Linked DNA regions of Homo sapiens: region 2 is linked to region 1. Evidence: promoter capture Hi-C in 16 types of primary human blood cells and fetal thymus (Javierre and others, 2016). All regions are on one chromosome and are shown on one strand. The core of a region is centred on a gene start or on the middle of the fragment in contact, and the rest is flanking DNA. Distances in the headings are between cores, read along the strand shown. Region 1 holds the start of NEIL3 (nei like DNA glycosylase 3). Region 2 overlaps AGA-DT (AGA divergent transcript).

Region 1 (5,890 bases), core at 1,753-4,252:
TTTTTTTTTTCAGATCAAAGTCCCAGAAAATGAAGCCATAGTAAATTATTTAGAAATTTACCAACAGCCTCAAAGAATGTATTCCTTCCATATTGATTTTAAAATCCAGTGTCCATAGAACCAGATTCCTGATACTAACCACAAAGACCTATTCCAATTTTTAATGCCTCTTTCTATCAAGGTATCAAAAATAATACCTTTAAATGCCAGGCTTTTTATGTGTGGGGTATAACTTATTGAATATTGCTGCCAAGTGATGTTAATAATTGCCTAACCATTACTGACGCATTTGTATTATATTATCAGGCTGCACTCTTTTGTGCAATCCAAACATGGCCATAGAAGCTGTTAGAAGAGAATTATCAGAATAGATATAAGAGAATTGACTCAACCGAACAAAACTAAAAATGGTGGTAGACACAGCCAAAAATCCAAGATTGCACTTTTCTATTTAATAAATAACCACTACTATATACTGAGCATTATGGTGTTCTTACCGTTGTATGCTAAAAAAGCAATAAAGATCCTACTGAATCTTTTATGGCTGAGAGGAGCTATGGCATGGTTAAGAGGGTAGGCTTTGGAGTTTTAAAGAAAAATCAAACCCTGGTTTAGCCCCTTACTAGACATGTGATCTTGGGCAAATTTACTTAAAGTCACTCTGAGCCTCATATGCCTCATCTGTAGAATCAGGTTAATCCTTTATCATAGGGTTATCCTTTTTCATGACTGAATGAAATGTAAAAGCATCTCATGCCATACCATCAGAGATAATCACAACAAAACTTAAAAGGAAATGTTTAAGCTATTTTTCCTAAATACCAATGAGGTGATATTTATTTAAAACATTAGGTTGGACTCTCACAGCAGAAAGCATATCCTACTCATCTTCGTATCCGCAGGAGCTAGCATAAAACCTAACACAAAATACGTTGTGGTTGAATGATGTAAATGATGATATCCCTAAGTATATTCATGTCATATCCATTGCTTAGCCCTCCCATCATAGTGATTCTCTTGTCTTCATCTCCACCACCAGCACTTGACCCCAAATTTGTCACCTGGATTTCTGCAGTCGACTCCTAAATGAGAGGGCAGTGTCTACTCTGGCTTTCTTTCAGTCTTTTTCCTGTTCCAATCCCTGAGCTGCATGGCTTCTACTCACCCTGCACACCTCAGCTTTTTTTTTTTTTTTTTTTTTGAGACAGAGTTTCGCTCTTGTTGCCCAGGCTGGGGTGCAATAACGCGACCTCAGCTCACTGCAACCTCCACCTCCTGGATTCAAGCGATTCTCCTGCCTCAGCCTCCTGAGTAGCTGGGATTACAGGCATGCACCAGCATGCCTGACTAATTTTTTATTTTTGTAGGGATGGAATTTCTCCATATTGGTCAGGCTGGTGTTGAACTCCCAACCTCAGGCGATCTGCCCACCTCAGCATCCCAAAGTGCTGGGATTACAGGCATGAGCCACTGCACCCGGCCCACACCTCAGCTTTGCTACTTCCCTGGGGAAGCCTTCCCAGGTCTTCCTACAAGTCCTTAAAGAATCGTGTATCTCTCCTTCACAGAACTTATTAATTTATATTTCTTTAGGTGATTATTTAATGAATGTCTTTGTGTCTTCCCAACTGAAGTATAGGCTCCAAAAGAGGAAGTATTTGTTTTTGCTCCCCAGGTGTCTTGAGTATTCAAAATTTTATTGAATGAGTAATTTTCATAAATATTAATATTCTTAAGAAACCATCTAAAATCCATCTCTGTGGTACCCTGAAACGATTTTAGAAACACTATAACAATAATAAAAAAAAATAGGTACAGAGTACTTACTGGCATATCAAGTCAAAATAAACAAAAGGGCAATTGGAAGGAGATGTAAAACTTATTTTTTCCCAAGTTTGAAAATATATTTTCTTAGACTTAGAACCTCATTTCTTTCAAGTTGTAAGCATATGCTAATTTCATAGCAGGCAACTTTTTCTTCCAGGACCAAAGGCTATAAGAAGCTTTGCAGAAGAAATTGAAATACAGTGCAATATTGCATGTAGGCATGAAATACAATCATCCATACATCTAGAGGGCTTTTAAAACATGATGCCTTAATCAGAATATTTTTAGTACAAGTTCTGGCCAAATGAATACCACATCGTCTGCAATGAATGCCTGAGTGGCAAGAAGCTGTGCTAGTTTACTTTAAAAAGAAATAAATTCACTTAAGGGAACCAGAACTGGGTTTCATTGCCCCTTAATTAGATGGCAATATGAAGTTGAGTGAGAAGTTAGTGCTAAATTTTCTACGTGTAGTTTTAGAATTATATACTAGTTGTGATATACTTACCAATTGCAGATTAGCCAAGCAAGAAAGTAGAATTTTATGCTAAAAGCTTAAAATGGGACGAAGAAAACATATCAGAGGTAGCAGAGATTTGATAATATCAATAGTAAAAAATGCAGCTGTAGACATGGGAAACCATGTGTGTATCATAAAGAAGTTAAGTAAGGTGACTCGGATAAAACACCTTCACTGGATTCCCCTAGGGCATCTTGCTCCGGCAGCGTGAGCCCAGAACGCTAGCCCTCCTCTCCTGCGCAGGCGCGCTAGGACCGACTTCTCCCTACAGTAAAGTGACGATAAACTCTGTGAAAGGTGGGACCCCAGGAAACCTGGGCCAGAGCAAAGAGATGACACTTTAAATCCTGGAACCCTGATGGGGTCTTTATTCCATTTCCCCCCTGCTGACTGCATGGCCTGTTACAGGAGTAGCTCACCTGCGGGGAGACCACAACCGTGGAGGCTGCGAGCCGCAAGGCGCGGCCCTGCAGACTCCGCAGAGCGCTTCCCCGCACGCCGGTCACCGCCTGGCCCGGGAGCACCCGCGCGCGAATCTTCTCTCCATTCAGAGTACAGCCTGGTCCTTCCACCATCTCTGTGGCCGGCACTGTGGCCCACCGATTGCAGGGCCTGGTGAGAATACCGCTGTGCAACTCAACGCTGCGCGGGCACTGACCGCACGCAGAGGAAATTCAAATCTCGCGCGCGTCTGGCCCCGCCCAGGCCCCGCCCAAACAGCACCCTAGCTGTTGAGGTCGCTCCCTACGGCGCATGCGCTGTGGTTCACCCCCGCCCTAGGTCTTGCTGTGGGTTTATTAAGAAAACGCAAACGCGCGTGGGGCGGGGGGCGTGGAGGACAACTAACTAGGCTGAACTGTAAAAGCAGAAGAAATTGGGACTTGGAAAGCTCTGAATGTATTTTCTTTGCGTTAAAGTTTTGCCCTTGTCTTTGAGCTACTTAGTATACACACATTTTCTGATCTGGTCCTCTTAATCTGTCCTTGTCTGTGACAGGACAGATATGTCACAGACAATCTTGTTTTTGGCTCTGTTTTTGGCATGCTATATTCGGACGTGGGTGGGATAAGAGAAACGAAGAAGAGGGTTTTTGGAACAAACAGCAGAATATATTCTAGTGTCTATATTTAAAAACTCCATTATTAGATAGTTAAGTGAGCCCTACCTAAGTGCATGCATCCATTTTGTAAGGGGACGCCCCAAGATGAAAGCTATATGAAATTGCTTTGTTAAACGTAGAGGTTTATATAAATTTGAGGGTAATGCGTAGCTTTTCAAATTTACCCACAACCCTAACCAAAGATGCATGCATACATATAAATCTATGAAGTTTATGACTCCATATAGTTTTGTAAATTATAAAGTGTATTCTTTTTTGAAAACTGAAATACTACACATTAAAACAGAATGTCAATTTCTAAGTGATTTCATAAGCATAGCACTGTGCTGCCGTTAAACCACAAGAGCATATACACAGGTGGTTGCTGACTTAGGATGCCCCAGCGTAACAGTGTTTTGACTGTATGATGGTGCAAAAGTGACACACAGTAGAAACTGTACTTTGAGTACTCATATAGCCATTCTGTTTTTCATTTTCAGTACAGTAGTCAATAAATTATTCAACACTTTATTATAAAATATGCTTTGTGTTAGGTGATTTTTCCCAACTGTAGGCTAATGTAAGTGTTCTGAACACATTTAAGGAGGGCCTCGTGAAGCTATGATGTTTGGTAGGTTAGATATATTAAAGGCATTTTCGACTTACTGTATTTTCAGTTTACAACGGGTTTATCAGGACATAACCCCATCGTAAGTTGAGGAGCATCTGTATACTAGAGAGTTGAATTTGAATATACTGAAGACTTGATTGAAATTTTGAAAAGTATTAAATCTTTCCTTTGCAGGGAGAGATTAGTGATCAAAAGTTGGCTGGATCAATTTCAGGACTATTTGTACTTTACTCCCTTGTTCAATTCAATAATCTCTGTCCTTTGATGGAGAAAAGTCCTATATACCTTCTCCTCTTTCAGCGTTGTACTAGTTATTTATTGTTACCTCATCAATTATCCCATTTGTTATTTCAAAGTTTCTGTGGGTCAGGAATTTGGCAATAGTCTAGCTAGCCAGAGTCATCCTGGCTCAGCATTTCTCAAGAGGTTACAGTTAAAATATTAGCCAAGGCTAAAGTGCCCCAAAGGCTTTTTGTAGCTAAAAGATCCACTTCCGAGATGAGTCACTTGCATGGCTGTTGGCAGGAGGCCTCAGTTTCTCACCTCTTGTGTCTCTATAGTGCAGCTCGGCTCTTCTAATGACATGGCAGCTGAGAGTGTGATCCAAGAGAGAAGTCAAGGAGAAAGCTGCAATGCCCTTTATTACTTAGTCACCCTTTATTACTTAGTTTACTATGGTAACTTACTTCTTATTCCATTCATTAGAAGCCAGTCATTAAATACAGTGCATTCACAAGGGGAGGGGAATTAAGCTGTGATTTGAAAGGAGGGATATCAAAGAGCTTGTGGACAAATTTAAAAAATATCAACCTGTTCATTTATCTGATTCACCTCATTTCTCTTTAAGGTGTTGTGTACTGTGCACATTTGGGTCAAATACGATCTTTAATTAGTAAGAGTTGGGGACTGACACTGAAGGCATTAAGAGATTTCACTGGCGTGACTGAAAGGCGGAGTCAGATTTTGTTTTGTTTTGTTGGCTGGAGTGCAGTGGCCTGACCTTGGCTCACTGCAACCTCCACCTCCTGGGTTCAAGCAATTCTCTTGCCTCAGCCTCCGATGTAGCTGGGATTACAGGCACCTACCACCACGCCTGGCTAATTTTTGTATTTTTAGTAAAGACGGGGTTTCACCATGTTGGCCAGACTGGTTTTGAACTCCTGACTTCAAGGGATCCACCCGCCTTGCCTCCCAAAGTGCTGGGATTACAGGCATGAGCCACTGCACCTGGCCCAGATTTTGTTTATATGTGACTAGCCTCTGAGTCCTTTGGTATATCTCTTTGATCTTGCTTCTTACGTCCAATCAAAAGCAAACTCGCATACGCTGTGTATCTACATTGTCTGTAAAAAGAGCCCACAACATTGCAAGCAAGCCTACCCTAGTGCAGACCCTTGCTACATTTCAGCTGGACTATGTCAGGATCCTGCTAACTGCTATCCTCCTTGAATTTTCTCTTGTGCACTCTTACCAGAGGAACCTTCACAATTTCTTCTTAAGTCCAATTTACTAATTTCAGTAAATTTGCTAAATCTATTAAATTGTGCTATTTGATAACCATATATATATATGTCATTTATCTTTTCCAAAACTCACTTTCTTCATATGGACAATAAATAATACTTTTTCTATACACCTGCATATGATTGCTCTAATTTCCATACACAACATAGCTTATGTGAAAGCACTTTGAAAACTATGAATACTCTACGAAATTAAGATAAATTGTACTTATTCCCAGAATATATTTTGTACCTTTTGTTTTTTGGCTCATGCTATTATTCTCACCTTTTCTTTTTTCCAAGACAGAGTC
Region 2 (5,839 bases), core at 2,520-5,019, 140 kb before region 1:
CCAGAAAAATGGGAGCTATAGATGATAACACACATGTGACTCTGTTTTGCAAACTGCTATGAAACAGAAGAAAGTGGTGTGACTCTCTTACTGCTTCTTGGTTCTCTAGGGGACTCAGTAAAGAGTAATTCTCTTCCCCACCAGGGTTCTCAGTAAACTGAAATATAAAATTAAGGAGTGGCACAGAGAGGACTGAAGACCACTTTCATAGTTAATAAAGGCTAAGTCAGAGGCCATCCCTTGCTTCGAGAGTCAAATGGACTTCCTAGCATTCAACCCCAGATTTACGCAGCAAGGCAAGACAAAGCAGAGGCAAAGAACACAGTCCCTGTAAGCAGCTCCGGATCAACAGGAACAAGGTCAAAGATGAGGCTGGCATGCCCGGTTTTGTCTTTCAAAATTTATCAATCAAAGAAGCCACTCAAAGCAAAGGAATAGAAAGACAGTGGTTCACTGAATACCCTCGACATGAAAGGAAATATAAGGAGTGTCTTCCTCTAACATTCCTCAGCTTTTCTTCTTATTCCAGATGACTTAAACATTAACGCTTGGTCAGTCAGGGATATGGCTCTCCTCTTTGGAGGAAGATATCATAATCAAGCAGGAGAGTCCTACTCCTACTTTCATGAAGCTACTCTCTCAATACCAGCAATCACTTCTGTGAGTATTTTCCTGAGTCCACTGTGAACAATATAGATTTCAGTCTCATAAGGCTCAGAAAGCTGCTAGAGTACTACATTCATTAAATCAACTCCAAGGTCACTCTGTACCCAAGGCCGAAAATGTATTCCTCATCCTAAACTATGTCCAGTCACATTGTTCAACATAACTAGGTAAAGTTCGGTGCTTCACTTACTCTACTCTACACCACATATCCAAGCCATCACCAAGCCCTGTAGGTTCTTCCTTCAAAACCACTTCTTGGCCAGGCGGTGGCTCACGCCTGTAATCCCAGCATTCTGGGAGGCCAGGGCGGGCGGATCACCTGTGGTCAGGAGTTCCAGTCCAGCCTGGCCAACATGGCGAAACCCTGTCTCTACTAAAACTATAAAAATTAGTCAGGCATGGTGGTGGGCGCCTGTAATCCCAGCTACTCAGTAGGCTGAGGCAGAAGAATCGCATGAACCAGGGAGGCAGAGGTTGCAGTGAGCCGAGATCGTGCCACTGTACTCCAGCCTGGGCTATAAGAGCAAAACTTCATCTCAAACAAAAACAACGACAACAAAAATAAAAAAACAACAAAACAAAAAAAATCCACTTCTCATCACCTCACCATGAGCATCGCACCTCAGCAATTCCATTATGCTGCTTCAATTTCCTCCATGAGTTCTAAACTCTTACTATGCATTTGTTTAGTAGCTTAGGTAAGTTCCATCAGAGTAGGAATTTTGTCTGTTTTATTCACTACTATATCCACAACACCTAAAAACATGCCTGATACATGGTAGGCAACCAATAAATACTTGTGAAAAGAAAAGGGAAAGGAGAGGAGAGCAGAGGAAGGGAGGGGAGGGGAGAGCAGGGGAGGGGAGGGGAGAGCAGGGGAGGGGAGGGGAGGGGAGAGTAGGGAAGGGGAGAGGAAAAAGTAAAAGAGAAGGGAGGAAGGAAGAGGCAGGGAGGGAAAAAGAAGTAAGGAAAAAAGGAAGGCAAATGAAAAGCAACAATTGTTAGGGTTTCTAAGGCTAAGTCACCCTTATATTGCAAGACACCCTCTTCAATTTGTGGTTGAACCTACCTTTGAAGCCTAGAATACAATGTTAGTGGTATATGAAAAGGGCTGTTATCATTTATTACAAACTCCTTATTTTCCAACTCCAGCCTGCACTTTGTCATTATCAGCAATACCAATAGATTTCCCATCAACCAACTAGACTCCCTCTACAGTAAGGGATAACCCTCACTTTTAGTGTTATAACTTAGGTGTTTTAAAATGATACTGAAGAAAGGCAAAAGACTGTGATTAACTAGGATTCAGCAATGTTAGGCTACTTGATTCAAATGGACCCCCATTCATGTTTCACAATCTTTTTTGTTCAGTTATTGCCCATCTTCATAAGACTTTCCATAATAAATCTTTTAAAATGCTTCACCAATTTCTAGTCACCAATTCGATTTCAAATCTGTTGTAATCTTGGCAGGTGATTTTTACTACTCTTAGAGAAGATCAAGATTAGCAGGCATTAATCCCCCATGTTCCTTTAATCTCTTATTCTGAAAAATAACCATCTTTTTCTCCCAGATGGAGAACTGTCATTTTCCTTTCTATCTCTCCTTGAGCACCACAGTCATAATTCTGATGTTGAATGAGGCTTCTTTGGTCCTTGAGATCTAAATAAGATAGGTTTAGACTCTGAATTTATTCTCTTCTGAAGTCCAAAGTCCTTTAAAACGTTTCTAGACATTTACATAGGTCTTAAATTTTCAAGCTCACCTAAGTATCTGAGCTTCTGTTTCTGCATGTGCTATTCCCATTATATACCATGTGGGGTTTGGGGGCTTTTTTGTTTGTTTTTTGAAACATAGTCTCGTTCTATTGCCTACACTGGAGTGCAGTGGCCTGATCTGAGCTCACGGCAACCTCTGACACATGGCAGCCAATAAATACTTTTGAAAAGAAAAGGGAGAGGAGAGGAGAGGAAAGGAGAGGCGGGGAGAGGAGGGGTGGGGAGGGGAGAGGCTGAAGCAATTCTCCTGCTTCAGCCTCCTGAGTAGCTGTGATTACTGGCATGCACCACCATACCCAGCTAATTTTTTGTATTTTTAGAAGACACGGGTTTCGCCATGTTGGCCATGCTGGTCTCGAACTCCTGGCCTCAAGTGATCTGCCTGGTCTGGCCTCACAAAGTGCTGGGATTACAGGCGTGAGCCACTGCTCCCGGCCCCACTGTATACTATGTTGATCCGGAAGCGAAATCCAGATCCTTCAAAATTTTTTGAAAAAAAGAAAGCAATATTGTTGAGTACTGGAGACTTCATTGAAAAGGCCAGGTGGCATCGTTCTGATGATGAGAATAAAGCAGTATTCTACTGGGAGTGTCTGAGAAGGCTTTTGCTTTCTGGATGAAAAGGGAAAGATGTGGCTGATACCAGGTCCTTGTCCTTTTCCCCAGCTTGAATGTGGATGTATGTCTGGAGCAACAGTAGCTGTCTTGTGAAAACAAAGCAGCAAGTAAGTTCTCACAGTTTAGAGCTACTGAACCAATGCCAGCAACTTTCTTATTAGGTGCAAAAAAGTAAAGCCTTGTCGCTTTAAATCACCATTAAGTTTTCTGTTATTTGCAACCGAAAGCACTTAAAGCTAATACAAAATTGCAGAGTTACCATGATCATAACTCTAAACCTATGAAATTCAAGGGGTTTAATGATTTATGAGTTGGGTGCGGTGGTACATACCTGTTAGTCGCAGCTGAGGCAGGAGGATCGCTTGAGTCCAGGAGTTCCAGGCTGCAGTGAGCTATCATTGTACCTTTGAATAGCCACTGCACCCAGCCTGGGAAACACAGCGAGACCTGGCATTAAAAAAAAACATTTTTAAGCTGTGCCTTTATTCTAAGGGCCATCCAGTAATAAGGGAACCTAAACTACTGAGTGTCCTCAGAGCTCTGGGTGCAATTAAAAGTTAGTGGTTTCACAGCTACCCAATTCTGTGGTTAGTAGAAAATTATAAAGATGATAGGAGGATCAAAAAGCCTCTTCCACAGAAGCTACATTAGCTGGGTGTGGTGGCCCATGCCTGGGATTCCAGCTGCTCAGGAGGGTGAGGTGGAAGGGTTGCTTGAACCCAAGAGGCAGAGGATGCACTGCCAATCCTCTCAATCTTGAGCCAAGATTGGACCACTGCATTCCAGCCTGGGCAACAGAGCAAGACACTGTCTCAAGCCCCTCTGATATGAGGGGCTTCCTCATATCAGAGTTCTTATGATACCATTCTCTCAAACCACCTGACTCCCTGAATTTGTCCTGAATTTGGAGAACTGCTTAATCTCTAAATCTGCCCTCTTGAGAAACCTTAGTGTTAGTAACAGACAGCGCTAACTCTGCTTTGTCAGAGTCCTGAATTCCTAATACTGACCTTCACTCATGATCTAGCGTGATGCTATTTTAATTGCTACTGACTATCATATAAACTCAACATAGTATCTGACAGATTAATTCTGAAAAAATTCTTCGTATACAAAGCCAAAAATTTTTACAGCAACAGAAATCAATGGTTAAGTAATTTCTGTGCATCATAAATAGATTTTATACATCCTTTAAAATTACATTGTATCTGCACATGGAATTTTTTTTCAGAGACAAGGTCTCACTGTGTTGCCCCAGGCTGGAGGGCCGTGGTGCAAACAGCTCATTCTAGTTTTGAAACACTGAGCTTGAGCAATCCTCCTGCCTCAGCCTTCCATTTAATAGCTGGGACTACAGGCAGCAGTTGCCACCACAAAGTTAACTTAAAAAAATTTTTTTTTAGAAACAGAGTCTAGCTGCATTGCTCAGGCTGGTCTCTAACTCCTGGCCTCAAGCAATCCTCATGCCTCAGCCTTCCCAGTAACTAGGATTACAGACATGCACCACCACACCCAGGTGCACATGGATGTTTACAGCAGCTTTATTCATAATTCCCAAAACTTGGAAGCAGCCAAGATGTCCTTCAGTAGGAGAATGAATAAACTGTGATACATCCAGACAATGGAATATTATTCAGCGCTTAAATAAAATGAGCTATCAAGCCATGAAAAGACATGGAGGAACCTTAAATGCGTATTACAAAGTGAAAGAAGCCAATCTAAAAAAGTCTCCATACTGCACAATTCCAACTAAATGACCTTCCAGAAAAGGCAAAAACCATGGAGACAGTAAAAAGGTCAGTTGGTTGCCATGAGTTAGAGGGGAGGGAGGGATGAATAGATGGAGTAGAGGATTCTTGCAATACTCTAATGGAATATATGCCAGTATACATTTGTCAAACCCACAGAATGTATAATACCAAGTGTGAACCTTAATATGAATTATGGATGTGGAATGATAATGATGTGTACAATTTGTTCATCAACTGTAACAAATGTGCCATGAGGTCACGAGATCAAGACCACCGCTAACGCAGTGAAACCCTGTCTCTACTAAAAATACAAAAAATTAGCTGGGCCTGGTGGTGGGTGCCTGTAGTCCCAGCTACTCGGGCGGCTGAGGCAGGAGGATGGCGTGAACCCAGGAGGCGGAGCTTGCAGTGAGCCGAGATGGCGCCACTGCACTCCAGCCTGGGCAACACAGCAAGATTCCGTCTCAAAAAAAAAAAAATATGAACTATGGATGTGGAATGATAATGATGTGTAGAATTTGTTCATCAAGTGTAACAAATGTGCCACTCTGGTGGGAAGGCTATCATGTGTGGGGGCAGGGGTATATTTTGTACTTTCTGCTCAATTTTGCTGTGAACCAAAAATTGTTCTTAAGAAATAAAGTCTTCAACTTAAATGTAAGACCTGAAACTATAAAAATTCTAGAATAAAATCATAAAATCTAGGAAAAACTCTTTTGGACATTGGTCTAGGCAAAGAACTTATCACTAGGTCCTCAAAAGGAAATGTGACAAAACCAAAAATAGACTAATGGGACTTCATTAAACCTAAAGGCTTCTGCACAGCAAAAGAAGTAATCAACAGAGTAAACACACAACCTTCAGAATGGGAGAAAATATTTGGAAACAATGCATCTGGCAAAGGACTAATATCCAGAATTTAGGAAGAAATCAAACAATACAATGACAAAAACAACAAATAACCCCATTAAAGAGTAGGCAAAGACATGAACACATATTTTTCAAAAGAAGACATACAAGTGGCAA

What was found. The method cuts DNA at HindIII sites, captures the fragments that hold promoters and counts their contacts. A CHiCAGO score of 5 or more calls a contact.
Region 2: a contact is called between a fragment that was not itself captured here and the fragment with the promoter of NEIL3 in region 1, in 2 of 17 cell types (fetal thymus and monocytes). The highest score is 8.7, in fetal thymus.

The regions. Positions count from the first base shown.
Region 1 is chr4:177,306,986-177,312,875 of GRCh38, reverse strand. NEIL3 (nei like DNA glycosylase 3) reads right to left here and starts at 3,002. Exons shown (of 10, transcript NM_018248.3): 1 at 2,767-3,002. The coding sequence starts at 2,922. RefSeq lists an enhancer at 2,832-2,921 and a silencer at 3,002-3,121. The HindIII fragment of the contact is 15,817 bases long and covers 2,384-5,890 here.
Region 2 is chr4:177,449,145-177,454,983 of GRCh38, reverse strand. The region is part of intron 1 of AGA-DT (AGA divergent transcript); the gene reads right to left. Among named protein-coding and RNA genes, the nearest start is that of AGA-DT, 7.1 kb to the right of the region's middle. The HindIII fragment of the contact is 9,950 bases long and covers 1-5,839 here.